Regions from separate parts of the Homo sapiens genome. Here region 2 is linked to region 1. The links are contacts of gene promoters, found by promoter capture Hi-C in human tissues and cell types (Jung and others, 2019). All regions are on one chromosome and are shown on one strand. Each heading gives the region's core, a stretch centred on a gene start or on the middle of the fragment in contact. The rest is flanking DNA. Distances are from core to core; before and after follow the strand shown. Region 1 holds the start of SPINT1 (serine peptidase inhibitor, Kunitz type 1). Region 2 overlaps LOC105370943 (a long non-coding RNA gene).

Evidence for each region. The method cuts DNA at HindIII sites, captures the fragments that hold promoters and counts their contacts. A contact is called where the count stands out against the background at its distance.
Region 2: a contact is called between a fragment that was not itself captured here and the fragment with the promoter of SPINT1 in region 1, in 4 of the 25 tissues and cell types used here (lymphoblastoid cells, ovary, spleen and 1 more).

What each region holds. Positions count from the first base shown.
Region 1 is chr15:40,842,716-40,845,415 of GRCh38, reverse strand. SPINT1 (serine peptidase inhibitor, Kunitz type 1) reads right to left here and starts at 1,368. Exons shown (of 11, transcript NM_003710.4): 1 at 1,230-1,368; 2 at 387-926. The coding sequence starts at 861. It overlaps SPINT1-AS1 (SPINT1 antisense RNA 1), which reads left to right and starts at 892. Exons shown (of 2, transcript NR_146468.1): 1 at 892-1,237. RefSeq lists silencers at 687-926, 1,217-1,276, 1,357-1,586, 1,748-1,930 and an enhancer at 1,224-1,795. The HindIII fragment of the contact is 27,771 bases long and covers 1-2,700 here.
Region 2 is chr15:40,907,510-40,910,209 of GRCh38, reverse strand. It overlaps LOC105370943 (a long non-coding RNA gene), which reads right to left. Exons shown (of 2, transcript NR_135836.1): 2 at 859-1,381. Among named protein-coding and RNA genes, the nearest start is that of VPS18, 14 kb to the right of the region's middle. RefSeq lists an enhancer at 2,426-2,555. The HindIII fragment of the contact is 3,580 bases long and covers 1-2,700 here.

The DNA of each region.
Region 1 (2,700 bases), core at 119-2,618:
GGTGGATCACCTGAGTTCAGAAGTTCAAGACCAGCCTGGCCAACATAGTGAAACCCCGTCTGTACCAAAAAAAAAAAAAAAAAAAAAAAAAAAAAAATTAGCCGGGTCTGGTAGCGGGTGCCTGTAGTTCCAGCTACTCCGGAGGCTGAGACAGAAGAATCACTTGAACGTGGAAGACGGAGGTTGCAGTGAGCAACCAGAGATTGCGCCATTGCACTCCAGCCTGGGCGACAAGAGCGAGACTCCGTCGCAAAAAAAAAGAAAGAAAAAGAAAAAAAAAAGTGAACTCTCCTTAACTCCTCTCTGATGTTCGTCTCCCCTAGGACCCCATAACCAGTCCCTTTTTTGAGTCTCTCCAAACCCATCCATCTTGGCACCCTCCTCACCTCCAAAGCCCTGGGTCCGCAGCTGGCGGTAGGAGCGGTACACTTCCCTCGTGAGGTAGTTGATGAAGCCCTCCCTGGGCGCGAACTTGCACACGAAGTTCTGCTCGTAGAGGCAGTTGATGAGGAAGCAGGCGGCGATGGCGTCCTCCCCGCGGTCGGGCTGCAGCTCCACTAGCGCCAAGTTGCAGTTCTGGGTGGTGCAGCAGGCGCGCACGCAGTCCCAGCCCCGGCGCACGGTGGGGGACTCCAGGAAGGTAGCTCCGTTGCTGACCGAGGCGTTGGTGTCCAGCACGAAGCCAGGCACCCCGGCGGTAAAGCTGTTCAGGCAGTCGGCTCCCGCGGGCAGCCCAGGGGGCGCGGGCGGTGGCCCGGCCTGGGTGCCCTGGAGGCCGAGCGTGCACAGAAGCCACAAGGCGACGGCAGGGATGCCGGCCGGGGCGAGGCGGGCGCGGGCCATCGTCCTCGCAGGGGCCATCGCCTTCCTCCCCAGGGGGGTCACCTTCAGAGCGCGGGCCTCTGGGTTCCGAGGGTGCTGGTGACCTGAGAAGAAGGGAGGGGACAGAGGAGGAGACACACCTGATCAGCCCGGGAGACTTTGGAGGAGGCGGGCCGGCCGGGAGGAAGTGGCGGGGAGGAGGGACCGGAGCACCCCAGGATCGAAGAGGGCGCACGGGCCCGGCCCTCCCACGCGCCCTCCAGGGACCCGGCAGCCAGACAGACGGACAGGCGGACCGCTAGGGAGCTCAAGTACCCGGACACACGCACGAGCGCAGAACAAAGGGCCGGACATGCTCCAGCCCGCTCCGCCTGCGCCTCGGCCTTGCGCGCGGGGGCCCGGGTTACCTGCGCAGGTGAGTTGGGTGGGGCCGGGTCCGCCGAGGTTCCGGTCCCAGCTTCCTGCGCGGCTCGGGTCGCGGCTTCCGACCCGGTGCTCGGAGAGCTGGGGCTCGGCCGCCTTCTCCCCCTGGTTTCTGGTGAAACTGAGTCAGCGCCGTCGGGGCGGGGCCGACATTCACCCTTGCGCTGCCGGCCCCGCCCACGCCCGGTGCGCTGCGGCCGCCTCTAGCGCGGAGCTCCAGGCCCGGCCCGCCCCGCGGCCCCGCAGCCCCGGTGCCTCCCCGGCAGCCAGCTCCCCGGAGGGGCTCTCGGGCTCCACCCAGTCCAGCCTCGCGAGGGAGCCCCGCGCCCGAAGCGCATACCCAGCCGGGAGGGGATGCGGCCGGGACGCGAGGGTCCGGCCTCTGGGGCGGCGGCCTCCAGTCTTCCTTTCCGGCCGGGGCCTGCTTTCCCAGCCCCAGACCTGAGGCCCGATGCAAATGATCTTTCCGGCCCTCAGGAAATCATTTCCATTTCGTGGCGGGAAGGTAACCCAAAAGTTGCGTGGCTGCACCTGTGATAACAGGGATCCGGGATGTCTGCCTCACTGTCAGCTCCGGGAAGCCCTCCCTGCTGTCAGGGTGAGAAACGGAGGCGATTCCCCGCGTCCAGGCTCCCCTGCGTGCTCCACGGGGCTTCCCTGTTGTTCGAGGCCCCTCCTCATCTTGTATGTACAGTTCGGTCCATTCCCTGCTATGGCTCATTGGACTGTTGCCCCCTTCCCTGGAGCCCAGGCTTCCTCTCTTTCACAAAGGGGACGCTGCTGGCTACTTTCTTCCAGGGAAATGTCATCCTTGGAAGCCTGGAGGTTCCAGTTCACCAAGTAGCTGAGTTAATGCCCTTCACGAAACAGTGGACTCCTTGAAGCCAAGCTCATTGCTCCTCCTGAGTAAAAAACTCTTAAGAGACCATTCTCTACGGCAAGGGTCTGAACAGGTGAAAGACAGATGAAGGCAGGGCTGGAGGAAGGAATCACATAGCATGCTCTCTTAAAATACAGATTCCAAACCTTTTCCTGATGGCTTAACAACCCCCAAACCAATGGGAACATTCTTCCCAGTTTCTCATCCAGAGCAGCTTTGCCTAGCAGATCCTGTGGCCAACCCTTGGATTTTGCTGAACTGCAACATCCTCCAGCTGCTCACATGATGCGTGTTGGGGTGGGAATCTGGGGCCTGTCTCCCCTTCTCTGGATGTTTAGGGTTTATCCACAGACCCTGGCACACTGGTGGATATACAACAATGGTGGTATGCTGGGAATGAAGAAAATGATTGTGCAGTCACTGGGAAGAAAGGGTTTTGTTGTGATTTGATTTCCCCTTATGGCTAACACATTCAAGAATCTTTATTTATTTATTTATTTATTTTTTTTTTTTTTTTTTTGAGACGGAGTCTTGCTCTGTCACCCAGGCTGGAGTGCAATGGCACGATCTCGGCT
Region 2 (2,700 bases), core at 140-2,639, 65 kb before region 1:
CACCTGCTGGGGCCTGGGACAGGGAGCTAGTCGGGAAGGACACCTGGGAGGATGTCTGGAGTCGGGGCACTTGCAAGCGTCCTGCCGGCTGTGGCCAAGGATCCACACTGGCTCACATGGAGAGCGGCCCAGTGGAGGCTCCAGCTGGTCCGCACTGAGAGCATGGGGAAGGATGAGCTGGAAGCTGGGGGTTTGGGGTATCTCTGAGTTCCAGCCTTAGAGGGAAAGACCAGGAACAAAAGGTAAAAGAGAGAACATCTGCCTGGTATTCTGGTCGGCAGCAGGCCCAAGGGGTCAAAGGTCAAGGGGAGGACAAGGGGGACTTCCTGAAGCTCCCGGGAGAGTGCCAGCCAGGCCGACTGTTGTGCAAGTTCTGGGCTGGCCTGCGAGGGCAGGCTGGCAGAGGAGTCATGCCTGATCAGCGGCCAGCATGGTGTCTGCCCAGCCCTCTTGGCCTGTCCTATGAGACTCCTGGAGCTGGAGTAGTGCCCTGTCTCCTTTCCTTCAGGGAACCAGGACCCCCATCCCAAGGAAGCACTCTTGTCCCACCTGTGGCCATATTCTACATGCCTGTGGGCTTCCTCTCATTCTCATCCTGAACCTCTTTTCCTTAGAATCGCCATTGTTCAAGAAACCAGAAAAACCTACTCAAGCAAGCTTCTTTCTTCCAATTCCACTCTGATATCTGAAGAAGTCAGAGGGCCTTGTGAGGGATGAGCTGGGACAGGTCTCAGGGTCCTACGCCTACAGAAAGGAGGTGCAGAGTAAAAGGGAAGAGGGGCAAGTGCCCAGGGCTGCTTGGGCGCCAGGCCCTGGGCTACCTTGACAGATGGGCGGCACCGCTCTCATTTCAGCCTCACAAGAGCCTTTCCAGGTCTGTAACAGTTATTCACATTTTACAGGAGAAGAAATTGAGTTTCCAAGGGCTTGATTAGCCTGATGCTGGTAATGGCAGAGCAGAGACTTGCACTTGCTCTTTACAGATTATGTCCTTGTTCCTCGGTTCAACCCATTTTGGCTGGAGATGGAAAATGAGTATAAAGAAGGACCTAGGATGGTGCCCTGCTCACGACCAGCATGGGAACACAGTTAATCAAGGCTGAATCTCACGGACAGGGGCAGGATCCAGGATGGAGCCTCCTGTTAGCTACCAATTTGTCTTCTGCAATTCAGCAGCTGTAAAGTCAGGAGGTGGGATCAGCAGCACAATGTCTTTCAAACTCGGTTCCTGGGCATCCTGGCATCTTATGGATATCGTGATAGGGGGCCGGGCACAGTGGCTCATGCCTGTAATCCGGACACCCTAGGAGGCTGAGGTGGGAGGACTGCTTGAAGTCAGGAGTTCAAGACCAGCCTTGGCAACCTAGCAAGACCCCCGTCACTACAAAAAATAGAAATAAAAATTAGCCAGGTGTGGTGTCTGTAGTCCTTGCTACTCAGGAGCCTGGGGTGGGAGGATCACTTGAGATCAGGAATTAAAGGCTGCAGTGAGCTATGATGGCGCCACTGCACTCCAGCCTAGGCAATAGAACAAGGTGTTGTTTCTATTAAAAAAAAAAAAAAAAAACAGAGAGAGAGACATTGAGATAGGAGTGGAGAACAGGCTGAGTGAACAGGAGTGTGGGTCCCTCCAGCCCAGTTTCCATCGGAGAATCTCAGCATACCAATTTCAAGTACTGGACATTCATGAATGTTTTTATTTGAACAAGGCTTCCACAGCACTTTATAGTCTCTATCTGAGGTCTCTGCAGCTCTGGCCTGCTGGGAGTTGTGAACGGTTTAGGTCCTGGCCTGGGAAGAGAAACCAGAGGACCTGGTAAAGGAAGTAGGGTTCACCTTCTAGCCCTGTGGAGATGCCGCGAGGGAACAGGTCAAGGGTCAGAGCTGGGAGATCATGCCATGGAGGGAAGGTGAGCTGCAGCCACCTGCCTCTGCACCTGGCAAACACAAACAGACCTTTGGCCACAGCAGCCTGGGAACCAGAAGCAGCAGCCACCTTCCGGGGGGCCAGACCAGTGCCCCTTTCCCTTTTCTCTGCCCAAGCTTATTCTCAGTGGACATGGGTTGCTGGCCACCAAACTAAGGCCGCGCAGCCTCTCCTGACCTCACGGTATGGTTTCTGACTGCTCAGTAAGGGCTGGTTCAAGGTGAAAGCTGAGCCACGGTAAAGCTGCTCAGGGAGAGGAAAGCACCCAATTACTGGGCATTCAGAGAGTGGGGCCAATCCCCTTGAAATGACAACCCTATTTTGTGACCCTTTTATTGGCCATCCTGGACCAAAGTTTGCCCCTCTGCCTCAGTTTTCCTTTTGGGAATCCAGGCATGAGAATGGTGGCCCTCTCCTGGTGGCTTCAGCACGTATGGCTCCCTGAATATCATCTCCATGCTCCAGGTGGAGGAGAAAGCTGAGGGCTCCAGCTGCCCAAGCACCAGAACTTTCTAGCATCCTCCTATCCCAGTGCCCGCCCCAGGCCTGCCTCTGACCACCATTCACCCTCAACCTGCTGCAGGGCCCAGCCTCACCCCACATAAGCAAAGCTGCCAGCAGCGTCCTTTGTGGTGCTGCTCCCGTGTGGCACTGCCTAGGGGCCCCACCATGGGGCAACAGATGGACCTATGGTCTCTCCAGAACAATGGTGGGGGAGGGGCCCTGGCATCGCCCGCCCCAAACAGGAAGCGCTGCATGAGCTTCAAAGGGCT